Regions from separate parts of the Homo sapiens genome. Here regions 1, 3 and 4 are each linked to region 2. Evidence: promoter capture Hi-C in human tissues and cell types (Jung and others, 2019). All regions are on one chromosome and are shown on one strand. The core of a region is centred on a gene start or on the middle of the fragment in contact, and the rest is flanking DNA. Distances in the headings are between cores, read along the strand shown. Region 1 overlaps DLEU1 (deleted in lymphocytic leukemia 1). Region 2 holds the start of RNASEH2B (ribonuclease H2 subunit B). Region 3 overlaps DLEU1 (deleted in lymphocytic leukemia 1). Region 4 overlaps DLEU1 (deleted in lymphocytic leukemia 1).

The links. Contacts are between HindIII fragments. The study calls those that stand out against the background at their distance.
Region 1: a contact is called between a fragment that was not itself captured here and the fragment with the promoter of RNASEH2B in region 2, in 1 of the 25 tissues and cell types used here (lymphoblastoid cells).
Region 3: a contact is called between a fragment that was not itself captured here and the fragment with the promoter of RNASEH2B in region 2, in 2 of the 25 tissues and cell types used here (spleen and stomach).
Region 4: a fragment that was not itself captured here is called in contact with the fragment with the promoter of RNASEH2B in region 2 in 4 of the 25 tissues and cell types used here (heart right ventricle, mesenchymal stem cells, pancreas and 1 more).

What each region holds. Positions count from the first base shown.
Region 1 is chr13:50,350,093-50,352,792 of GRCh38, forward strand. The region is part of intron 2 of DLEU1 (deleted in lymphocytic leukemia 1); the gene reads left to right. Among named protein-coding and RNA genes, the nearest start is that of DLEU1-AS1, 180 kb to the right of the region's middle. The HindIII fragment of the contact is 4,953 bases long and covers 1-2,700 here.
Region 2 is chr13:50,908,540-50,911,239 of GRCh38, forward strand. RNASEH2B (ribonuclease H2 subunit B) reads left to right here and starts at 1,252. Exons shown (of 11, transcript NM_024570.4): 1 at 1,252-1,601. The coding sequence starts at 1,538. RNASEH2B-AS1 (RNASEH2B antisense RNA 1) reads right to left here and starts at 2,173. Exons shown (of 3, transcript NR_046552.1): 1 at 1,944-2,173. RefSeq lists silencers at 1,067-1,496, 1,507-1,746, 1,957-2,006. The HindIII fragment of the contact is 12,674 bases long and covers 1-2,700 here.
Region 3 is chr13:50,307,167-50,309,931 of GRCh38, forward strand. All of the region lies in intron 2 of DLEU1 (deleted in lymphocytic leukemia 1), which reads left to right. Among named protein-coding and RNA genes, the nearest start is that of DLEU2, 180 kb to the left of the region's middle. The HindIII fragment of the contact is 5,964 bases long and covers 1-2,765 here.
Region 4 is chr13:50,392,579-50,395,341 of GRCh38, forward strand. The region is part of intron 3 of DLEU1 (deleted in lymphocytic leukemia 1); the gene reads left to right. Among named protein-coding and RNA genes, the nearest start is that of DLEU1-AS1, 130 kb to the right of the region's middle. The HindIII fragment of the contact is 4,618 bases long and covers 1-2,763 here.

The DNA.
Region 1 (2,700 bases), core at 10-2,509, 560 kb before region 2:
AGAATGGCATAGATTAATTTTGCCTGATTTTGAACTTTATGGAGTCATATAGCAGATACTCTTTTGTGTCTGACTTCTTTTGTTTAACATAATGTTCGTGAGAATCACCCATATTATTTCATAGAATTGTAGAACATTTATTCTCACTGCTATATTCTAATGTATAAATATAAATTTTAAAAAATCCATTCCGGTATTGTTGGGCATTCAGGTAGCTTGCGGGTTTTAGTAATTATAAATTATGCTACAATGACTATTCTAGTACACATCTTTTGGTGAACATATGTTCACATTTCTGTGGATATATACCTATATGAAGAATCCCTGGATTGTAGATTGTGTTTATATTTAGCTATGCTCCTGCAAAACAATTTCTCAGAGTATTTTTTATCAATTTATCATTCCACTAGTAGTGTACAAAATTTCAGTTGTTCCATATCCTTGGCAACACTTGGTATTATCCATCCCTTCAATTTTGGCCATTCCAATGAGTATGTGATAGTATCATATAATGTTTTTAATTTTTATTTCCCTAATAACTAATGAATCACCTAAAGTTGAGGTACTTTTCATTTCATATGTTTATTGGTTATTTGGATATCCTCTTTCGTGAAGTGCTTTCTGTAATTTTTTTTGTACAGTTCTCATTGTATTGACTGTCTTTTTGATATTGTTTTATAAAGCTCTCTCTATCTTCTGAATATGAGTCTTGCATTAGCTTGCTAGGGGTGCCTTAACAAAACACCACAGACTAGATGGCTTAACCAACAGAAATTTATTTTCTCACAGTTCCGGAGTCTAGAAGTCCAAGATCAAGGTGTCAGAAGGGCTGGTTTCTCCTGAGGCCTCTCTCCTTGGCTTGCAGACTAGAAAATATAGTATTTTTAGATGGACCTATTGTCACTTTGCACAAAGCTGAGATTTTTTGAAAAGAGGAGAATGGACAGGCAACTAGCAAGGTCTGGCTCAGTCCCTAATTTTTCTAAAACTAGTAGGGATGAAGGAAGAAGAAAGGAAGTGGTACCTTCTTTTCTTATCAAATGAGCAGTGTTCCAGGGCTTGTGCTGTTACAGCTGGAACCACATTGGCGCAGCTCAGGGGAATCAATGGTTCTTGTTATTCCCTGGTCTGCTGAGATTGGGCTAAGCAGGAATAAAGGTCACAGCAGCTCTTCTAGTAAGCCTATGGGATGGCCATGATGGTTCCCATGGAAAGTGTATAGGCCAGAGAAGATTCTCCCCACCACCAATCTCATTTATGGTTTGATGGAGCTGAGAGTCCCAGAAAAGCATTCCATGACATTTCAGCCCAATGCATCCCCTGGTAAGAGAAAATTTTCATATCAGTTTTGGAACAAAAGATTGTAAAAATATTTCAGGAAATAAGCCCTAGTTCACATTGTCACATATAACTACATAAAGGGCATTGAATTATCTTACTTATATTTTTAATAAGATGATTTTTAGTATTGCTCATCAACTCTTCCCCTTCCCCTCAAACAGGCTTGAGACTGTTCACTAGTATATAGGGTAATCTGTGCCTTGAAAGAAAGAAGATGTGATATCTGTTTTCTACTACACTGATTTGAATCTGTTTTCTCCAAACTGCGACCCAATCTAGCAGAATGTAAGGAGCCTATATTGGCATACTAAGACCACTGCCCTCCCATTTTTATTGAAAAAGGCCAAGAATGAAAAAGCAAGCTGTCTTAGTCTGAGAGACAGACATCAGGGTGGGATTAAATGTGCAAGGATTTTGTTAGGGGAAATACCTGTCTGGGAGAAAATGGGTAGGGAGCAGAAAGAGCTGTTAGACTATGGAACAAGTCTATCTCACAAATGGAGAGAGGGAAGGAAGGTTAGGTGGAAGTGTCCTAGACCATTGTGCAGCCTAAGGAAGCTTCAGCAAGGTTGTTATGGAGTCTGTGAACCAAAGTTGGCTGTCAGAGGAGTCCCTTGTGTCCCAGGAACAGGCTTGCCCACCACATCCAGTCATTGGCTAGGAGCAGCCTGTGGCTGGGAGCAGCCAGTATGGACGTGGTACAAATGTGATGGTGGATCTCAGAGTGCAGCAGCTGAAGACCTTGGTCAATTACCTTCCCTGTAGCTGGATATTTGCAAGGCACATTCTAATGGCAGCTTAGTTTGCTTTTGCTAGAAATTAAAGAGGCCGGGCACGGTGCCTCACGCCTGTAATCCCAGCACTTTGGGAGGCTGAGGTAGGCAGATTACCTGAGGTCAGGAGTTTGAGACCAGCCTGGCCAACATGGTGAAACCCCATCTCTACTAAAAATACAAAAATTAGCCGGGCATGGTGGCACACACCTGTAATCCCAGCTACTCGGGAGGCTGAGGCAGGAAAATCGTTTGAGCTTGGGAGACAGAGGTTGCAGTGAGCTGAGATCATGCCACTGTACCCCAGCCTGGCCGACAGGGCAAGACTCTGTCTCAAAAAAAAAGAAAAAAAAAAAGAAATTAAAGAGAGCATTGGGATGCCTCTCACTTTTGTGAAATGTAAGAATCCCACTTGGTTGACACCAGTTGACATGAATGACTTTAGGAAGGGAGTGAAATATGGTGAGTCAGAAGAGAAGGGTTAAAGAAGGGATATTGGATGAACCCAAAGTCCATAATATTAAAACTGAATGCACTATGAATTATTTTCATTTTAAATTCTATTGTCTTTTCTTGAGTAGGTGCT
Region 2 (2,700 bases), core at 2-2,501:
AGAAAGGCCTCTTCTCCACCAGCTGTGTCCTGCAATCAACTGCAGCTGTATTGGTCTCACCCCATGGGAAACAGGTTTGAAGTTAAAAACCTTTTCAGAGGGCCGAGATAAATTTAGTGCTGCTAAATTTAACTATCTTCAAGATTAAACATGAAAAGCAAAGTGCATGAGTTATGTATATTATTCTTTCAATTGTGCAAAAATAAGACATTAACTTGTTTTTGCATGGAAAAATTCTGCAAGAATAGAGAAGAAATGTTAACAGTTACCCCTGGGATCTGGGATAAAAGAGATACATCATGCTTTTCTTTAAAAAAAAAAAAAATAGGTTTTTGTGGATTTTTTTGTTTTTGTTTTTTTTGACAGAGTCCAGCTCTGTAGCCCAGGCCAGAGTGCAGTGGTGGGATCTCGGTTCACTGCAACCTCCATCTCCTGGGTTCAAGTGATTCTTGTGCCTCAGCCTCCGTAGTAGCTGGGATTACAGATGTGCACCACCACACCCAGCTAATTTTTGTATTTTCAGTAGAGACGGAGTTTCACCTTGTTGGTCAGGCTGGTCTCCAGCTCCTGACCTCAGGCGATCCGCCCGCCTCGGCCTCCCAAAGTGCTGGGATTACAGGCCTGAGCCACTGCGCCTGGCCCGTGCTTTTCTCTAAAGTATGAAAGGAATATGTACTTTCTTCTTAAAAACCATGTACCAAACAACACTTTTCAATTAAAATGTTATTTTTAAAAGTTTAAATCCCCAAATTTCATGGCTCTAACTTTTTAAACATCACTTTTTAAATAAATGTCTAAGTTTTTAACTCAGTATACAGCGTTCTCCAAAACAACAAATTCATATTCTGAGCCCAAAACTGTGCACCTCTTTTAGTGATGAGGACGGAGTCCAAATTGAGGACATCCCTTGTAGCTCACAATGCACACATATTCTCACATCAATAGCAACACAGAATGCAACTGATGACCAATATATATTCACAAATAATTGAGGACCATGGCTAAGAGTTGCATTCGGATTCCGATGTGACTGCTATTGTCCTTAACACGGACTAGCTCCAGGTGAGTCCCCCGGCCCCGGGGGTGTGGCGGGCGTCACCCGTTGTCCGGGCACACACCCCGCAGACCCAATCCTAGCCCGCTGGCTAGACCATGGAGGGCCGCTGGGTGCAGCCACAGAGCGCGGGGCCCCGGCGACCCCGCCCCGCTCCGCGTCACTCGGCGCCCTGCGGCGCGCGATGAGCACCTACCACTAGCGGAGCCGCGAGGGAGAGGCCGCGGCCCCTTCCCGTTGCCTGCGGCCACCGGCCGGCATTCAGAGCCCCTCGCCTGGCGCTAAATTTAAAAACGTAACACGAGCAGCAGGCTGGTCTCGGAAACGAAACGAAATTCGGTCCCTGGGCCTCCTCCCGGGCGCTGCCGGTCCCTCAGCGCGCCGCGCCACCCGGAACAGACCCTTCTCCCGCCATTTTCGGCGGGGCTGGGAGACTGAGGCCCGCGGCGCTGAGCCTGCGGCGCCCCGGAAGAGGCGGGCGGCATGGCCGCTGGCGTGGACTGCGGGGACGGGGTTGGCGCCCGGCAGCACGTGTTCCTGGTTTCAGGTAAACACGCGCGCCCGGGCGGCGGGGTCGGCCCAAGAACTGGCGGAGCGGCCCGCGACCCCGGGCGCGCCGCCCCCCACCCCGGTGGCTCCCACTACCCGGCCCGGCGCGGGATGGGATTCTCTCTGGGACAGCTGGCCCCGCATTTTGGTCACACGTCATAGCAAGCCGCGGTTTTCAAACCCGGAAGCGCCGAAAAGGACCGAGCGTGTTTCCCGGGCCCTGATCCCCGGTGGCTCGGGTGGGAGGGTGGAAGCCGACTCAGCCTGAGGGGAGCCACGCGGGTTCGCGGTCACCGGTGCGCTGCGGGCCCCGGAGGTTTCTGCCCTTGGTGTCCCCTACCTGGCAGCTGGCCCTGCTTCTGTGATCCTACTGGGTTGGAACCAGGGATCCAGTAGGCTCGAAGTGGCCTCAGACGGTGCGCAGTTTTAAGAAAGCAAAGGGACAGGCCTGCAGTGGCGAGGCAGGAGGGAAGCGGGATGGGAGTCGCGGTTAGGCCAAGGGTAGTTCAAAGCGATTCAGCAGGATGATGACCACAGGAGTGCTGGAGCCGGGCCTTTCAGCCCCCGTGTGGATGATGACCGGCCATCCAGGACATGCGAGGGCTTGGGACAGTGGACAGCCAGTGCCACACAAGGAAGGACCGATTAAATGACACAGTTAAAGGAATTTGGCCTAGGGAGTGCAAGCCAGAAAGGTTTGGTCTTTTTATATATGTAACATTGGAAAAAAGGAACATCTCCTGTTCCCTGTATTAAGTTTTGACTTTAGCTCAGCAAATGCAGTGTTTGTGGCAGTAAATATACTCTGATAACAATATTCTTTCCCAGGAATTTAGAGTTTTATGATGGTTATTGAAAATGTTTACATGACAGGCTGTCAATAATATTTTTTGCCTCTAAAAATAAAACATACATAAAGTGTACGGATTTTAAGTATGCAACTCACTGAACTTTTCATACGTATACACCACCCTAGTAACCATCCCCCAGTTCAAGATGTAGACTGTTTCCAATAACGCCTCATGCCTGTTCCTAGATAGCCCCAGGAACCTCTATGCTGACCTCTGTCACCAGAGATTAGTTTTGCCTGTTTGAAT
Region 3 (2,765 bases), core at 116-2,615, 600 kb before region 2:
ATCCACTGTTGACGGGTATCTAGGTTGATTCCATGTCTTTGCTATTGTGAAGAGTGTTGCGATGAACATGCAATTGAGTGTATCTTTATGGTAGAATGATTTATTTTCTTTTGGATATAGATCCAGTAATGGGATCGCGGGGTTGAATGGTAAGGCTGTTTTAAGTTCTTTGAGAAATCTCCAAGCTGCTTTTCACAATGGTTGAACTAATTTACATTCCCACCAACAATATATAACCATTCCTTTTTCTCTGCAACCTCACCAGTATCTGTTGTTTTTTGAGTTTTTAATAATAGGTATTCTGACTGGTGTGAGATGATATCTCATTGTGGTTTTGATTTATGACCCTGGGTAGTCAAAGGTTTCTTAGGTAGAACACAAAATTCATTAATTGTAAAGAAAAAAATTGATTACTTAGACTTACCAGAATTAAAACATTAGTTCCTTGAAAGACACCATAAAGAGAACAGAAATGCAAGCCACACACTGGGAGAAAATATTCTTAGCTCATGTATTAAACAGAAGACTTGTATTCAGAATATACAAAGAACTCTTACAACTCCAAGAAAATGGTTAAAAGGTTTAAACAGATACTTCACAAAAAAATGGTATATAAACGGTGCAACAACGCACTTAAAGATGGTTCAACATCACCCCTTAGAATAGCAAAAATCAAAAAGACCCAATGCTGGCAAGGCAAAGCTGTGGAGCAACTGGAACTCCCACAATTTGCTGATGGGACTTTAAGATGGTGCAACCATTTTTGTTGTACCATTTGGAAAACAGCTTGGCAGTTTCTGAAAATGTTAAACATATGCCTATAGCATGACCCAGCCATTCCACTCCTGGGCATTTACCCAAAAGAAAGCATATGTTCCTACAAAACCTGTACATGAATGTTCACAGCAGCTTTATTTTTAACGGTTCCAAATTGAAAACAACTCAAAGGTCCATCAACAGGTGACTGTATAAATAAATAGTGATTTATACAATGGACTACTACTCATCAATACAAAGGAATGAACTATGGATGCATATAACAACATGGATGAATCTCAAAATCATTTTGGTGAATAAAAGAAGCCAGGCACAAAAGGATACATACTGTTTGATTCTATTCATATAAAATTCTGGAAAACACAATTTTATTCTAGATCCTTTATTCTTTGAATAGTTGAATTTTAATTCCTTTTATATTTTCCATGTAAAGTTTAAGCCCTTTAAAACATCCATGTGCAGAAGTTGAGAGAGGGAAGAAGTGTAGGCCAAAGATGTAGCATTGGAAGTCAAGAAGAAAATAGTCTTTATAATCTCAGGAGTGACATATTTAAATAAGGAAAGTGTAGCAAAAAGAAAGTTTAGGACTGAGTTCTGAGGAACACAAACAATTCAAGGTGGGTAAATGAGGTAAAGCCAGTACAGGAAGCTGAGGAGGAACAGCTAATGGGGTTGAAGGAAACCCAGGACAATGTATGATCAGAGAAACCAACAGAGAAACATGCTTCAAAAAGGAATGAAGGGTTAACTATGCCCAACTCCACCAAAAGCTGAGTAAGTTGAGGGTATAATTAGTGCCCAAGAACTATGGGAGTTTGAATTTGCAAACAGAAAAAAAAAATAAGTAGAGCTTTGCAACTATGCAAGTAGTTACTTGCTAGTATATAACAAATTTTGCTTAACTTATTCTTGAATTAACAGGTTTTTTATTTCAAGGAGTACAAAATTAGAAATAATTAAAATAAAAATAAAAAATAGGTTCAAAATACACAAAATCCTAGTTACTATAGACCGTTTCGATGTTTCACCGGGTACAGAGGTTATTAAATTACATTATTAACTTTTAACTCTTTGATAGTCACCATCTTTACTGCTCTTGAAATTTTAATTATAAACCATTATTTATCTTATTACTATAATTTTTACTGTCATAATCAAAGAATTTCTGAGATTTTCAACCAACCCATATGATGAAGGTATGAAACATCTTTTTATCACCAAGATGGGAAAACAATGGCAAACTCTTGCATCAATCAAGTTAAATGAATTGGTTATAGATGGTTCTTAGTGTTGGATTTTCACCTGAAGTATCTGCCATCAGCCTTTCATGGGAAATATTTTAATTTAATTTTGAAATTAAAACAGTGGTGTAGTTTCATTTTGATTTGTATAGAAAAGGGCTTAGATAGTAATGCAGTATAAACAACCCTGACAGAAATCTTGATTTATCGGTTCTTGGGGGATTCAGCAAAGGCTTTAGGGCATGAAAGGCATAAAGAAAACTTGGCAGGAACCAGAGCAGAGGAAGGCAAGATACTAGCCAGCTAGCATGGTGTTTTTTCCCTGTTCTCTGACAGAAGGAGGACAGCCATGTGAGGAAGATAATCATGGCAGCAAAAGTTGCTAAAGAAAGTTGCTTAAGCTAAAATCATCAAGGAATTTGAGGCAATGACAGTTCATCATCTAGAGAGATGGACTCTAACTGGATGAATATACAAAGCTCTGCTTTCTGAGAAGCAGGATACGTCTGCTGAGAGACAGCTGGGAGTGAACTAAGCTTCATTCTGCAATCTTTTTGCTGACATTTGCCATAATATTTTCAGTGATGTGTAAGAAATGCAATTCTGTAATTACATGGTCTCCTGGCTGTGGTCTCCATCCAAAGCATGATAGTGTCTGGACCCCCACCCTAAGAGTTTAACACCTCCTGAGTGTACAGGCTCATTTTGGCCCTAATGGAGAGAAAACCAGCAGTGCAGAAATTCCTC
Region 4 (2,763 bases), core at 174-2,673, 520 kb before region 2:
GAGTTTCTTGTAGATTGCTATGCATTTAGCATTTTGCTGGGTTTTTTGTTATCAGTGCCCACTCTGAGTGGGTGGAGCCCCCTTTCCTGGTGGGTTATGGACTCCCTTATATCAGCAGATGAATAGAGGTTAAGAAGCATCACGAGTCAGCTTTATTTAGTTCTTATCTGGACATGGACAAGGTTACAGTCTACCCAGATATGCAGAGAGTATTCAGTGCTACATACTCAAGCTCCTTTCCTGGCTAAATTTCTGTTGGTTGCTCCCATTCCTATAACTGGAACATCACCTGTTAATTTCTTAATGTATGTGCACACAACAGATTCTTACTATGTATTCTCTGTCTAGCCAGGAGCATTACAACTGCTTCCACCACACCACCTCATTTGGCTATCTGAGTCTTCGGGTTAATTTCTGAGCAATTAGTGCTGTTGTGGTCATTGGGTTTTGTTTTGTTTTGTTTTGTTTTGTTTTTAGGCTCAATCTTATCAGATTGGATGCCTCTTGCTTTGAACCCACACTTTGTTGCCTCACCCTTATGACTCCTCTATTTCCCTCTTCATCCTTTTATTAAACAAAACTTATTAACTCTGTAATCAGACCAGCAGCATTGTGCAATAGGCACAAATGTTAGGTGCCTTACACATGCAATTTTGTGCCCAACTTTGGCAGCAGTTGTTTTTATTCTGTCTTCACAGATGAGGAAATGGAGGCCCAGTGAAGACACAGGAGAAGTATTAGTGACCTGCTACTTTTAGATATAATCTGTATAGAGAAATAATATGGATATAAAAGAAGTTGCTAAAAATAATCGTAATATCTGTATATTGTAAACCAGCAGTCCCCAATGTTTTTGGCACCGAGGACAGGTTTTGTGGAAGACAATTCTTCCACAGACCAGGGGCGGTCGGGGGATGGTTTCAGGATGATTCAAGCACATTATATTAATTTTGCAATTTATTTCTATTATTATTACATTGTAATATGTAATGAAATAATTTTACAACTCACCATAATGTAGAATCAGTGGAAGCCCTGAGCTTGTTTTCCTACAAGCTTATATGGGACTCCATATGGGGTTGATGGGAGACAGTGACAGATCATCAGGCAGGCATTAGATTCTAATAAGGAGCATGCAACCTAGATTCCTCCCATGTGCAGTTCACAATAGGGTTTGCGTTCTTGTGAGGCTCCAGTGCCGCCGCTGATCTGACAGGAGGCGGAGCTCAGGCAGTAATGTGAGCAGTGGGGAGCAGCTGTGAATATGATGAAGCTTCCCTTGCTCGCCCACTGCTCACCTCCTGCTGTGTGGCTTGGTTCCTAACAGGCCATGAACCAGTATTGGTCCACGTGGCCCAGGGGCTGGGGATCCCTGTTGTAAACTACTTAACATTGCTAAGAAAAACTAAAGAAGATATAAATAAATGGAACAATATTCTGAATTCTTGGAATGAAAGAATCAATATTGTTAGTTGTCTCCAAATTGATGTATAAATTCAAAGCATTCCCAGTGAAAATCCCAGAAGGCTTTTTTTTTCTTTTATCTTTTTTTTTTTTTTTGGTAGAAGTTGATAAGATGATTCTAAAATTTATATAGAAATGCAAAGGACTTAGAATAGCCAAGATAATTTTGAAAAACAACAAAGTTGGGGGACTCATACTACCTAATTTTGAGACATAAAACTATTGTAATCAAGGTAGTGTGGTAATGGTATCAAGATGGACAATATATAAGTAGATATAATGGAAACATACATCTCATGTATCTGGTGAATTGACTTTTATAAAGGTTTAAAGGCACTTCAACAGAGAAAGCATAGTCTTCTTAACAATTGATCATCCATTCATAAAAACAGGAAAAAAAAAAAGCAGAAAACTCCTTTGATTCAAACCTTGCAACATATCCAAATCCAAAAGAGATCATAGGCCTACTTTCAAGATCTAAAAATATAAAATTTCTAGAAGGAAACAGAAGAGAACATCTTTGTGACAAGGTATTAGGAAAAATGTTTATAAATCCCATACCAAAAGAATAAACCATAAAAGAAAAAAATATAAATTGGACTTCATTCAAATTAAGAACCTCTATTCTTTGCAAGAAACTTAAGAAAATGAAGAATATCCACCTATTGGAAGAAAATATTTTCAAATCACATATCTAATAAGACTTGCATACAGAATATATAAAGAATTCCCTTAACATAGTAATAAGAGAACAAATAAACCAGTAAAATAGGGCAAAATATTAGAACAGGTACTTTACCATAAAGGACATATGGATGGCAGATAAATGCATTAAAAATGTTCAATATCATTATTCCTTAGGGGCAGATTAAAACCACACTGAGATAGCACTACACATCTGTTAGAATAAAGACTGACCATAGCAAGTCGAGGGCAGGAAGCAACTGGAACTCTCATGTACTGCTGATGGATGTGTAAAATGGTACAATCATTCTAGAAAATAGCTAGTTTCTTTAAAAGCTAAACATATAGATAGCAAATAACCCAGTCATTTTACAGGTATTTACTGAAGAGCAATCAAAGTATGGGTCTATACAAGGACTGAACATGATTATTCATAGAAGCTTTATTTTAATAGTCAAAAACTAGAAACAACCCATATGTCCATCAGTGTCCATCAATAGATGAATGGATAAATAAACGGTGGTATAGCTATACAATGGGATACTTATCAATAAAATAAATGAACTATTAGCACATGCAACATGAGTGAAATTCAATGTAATTATACTGATAGAA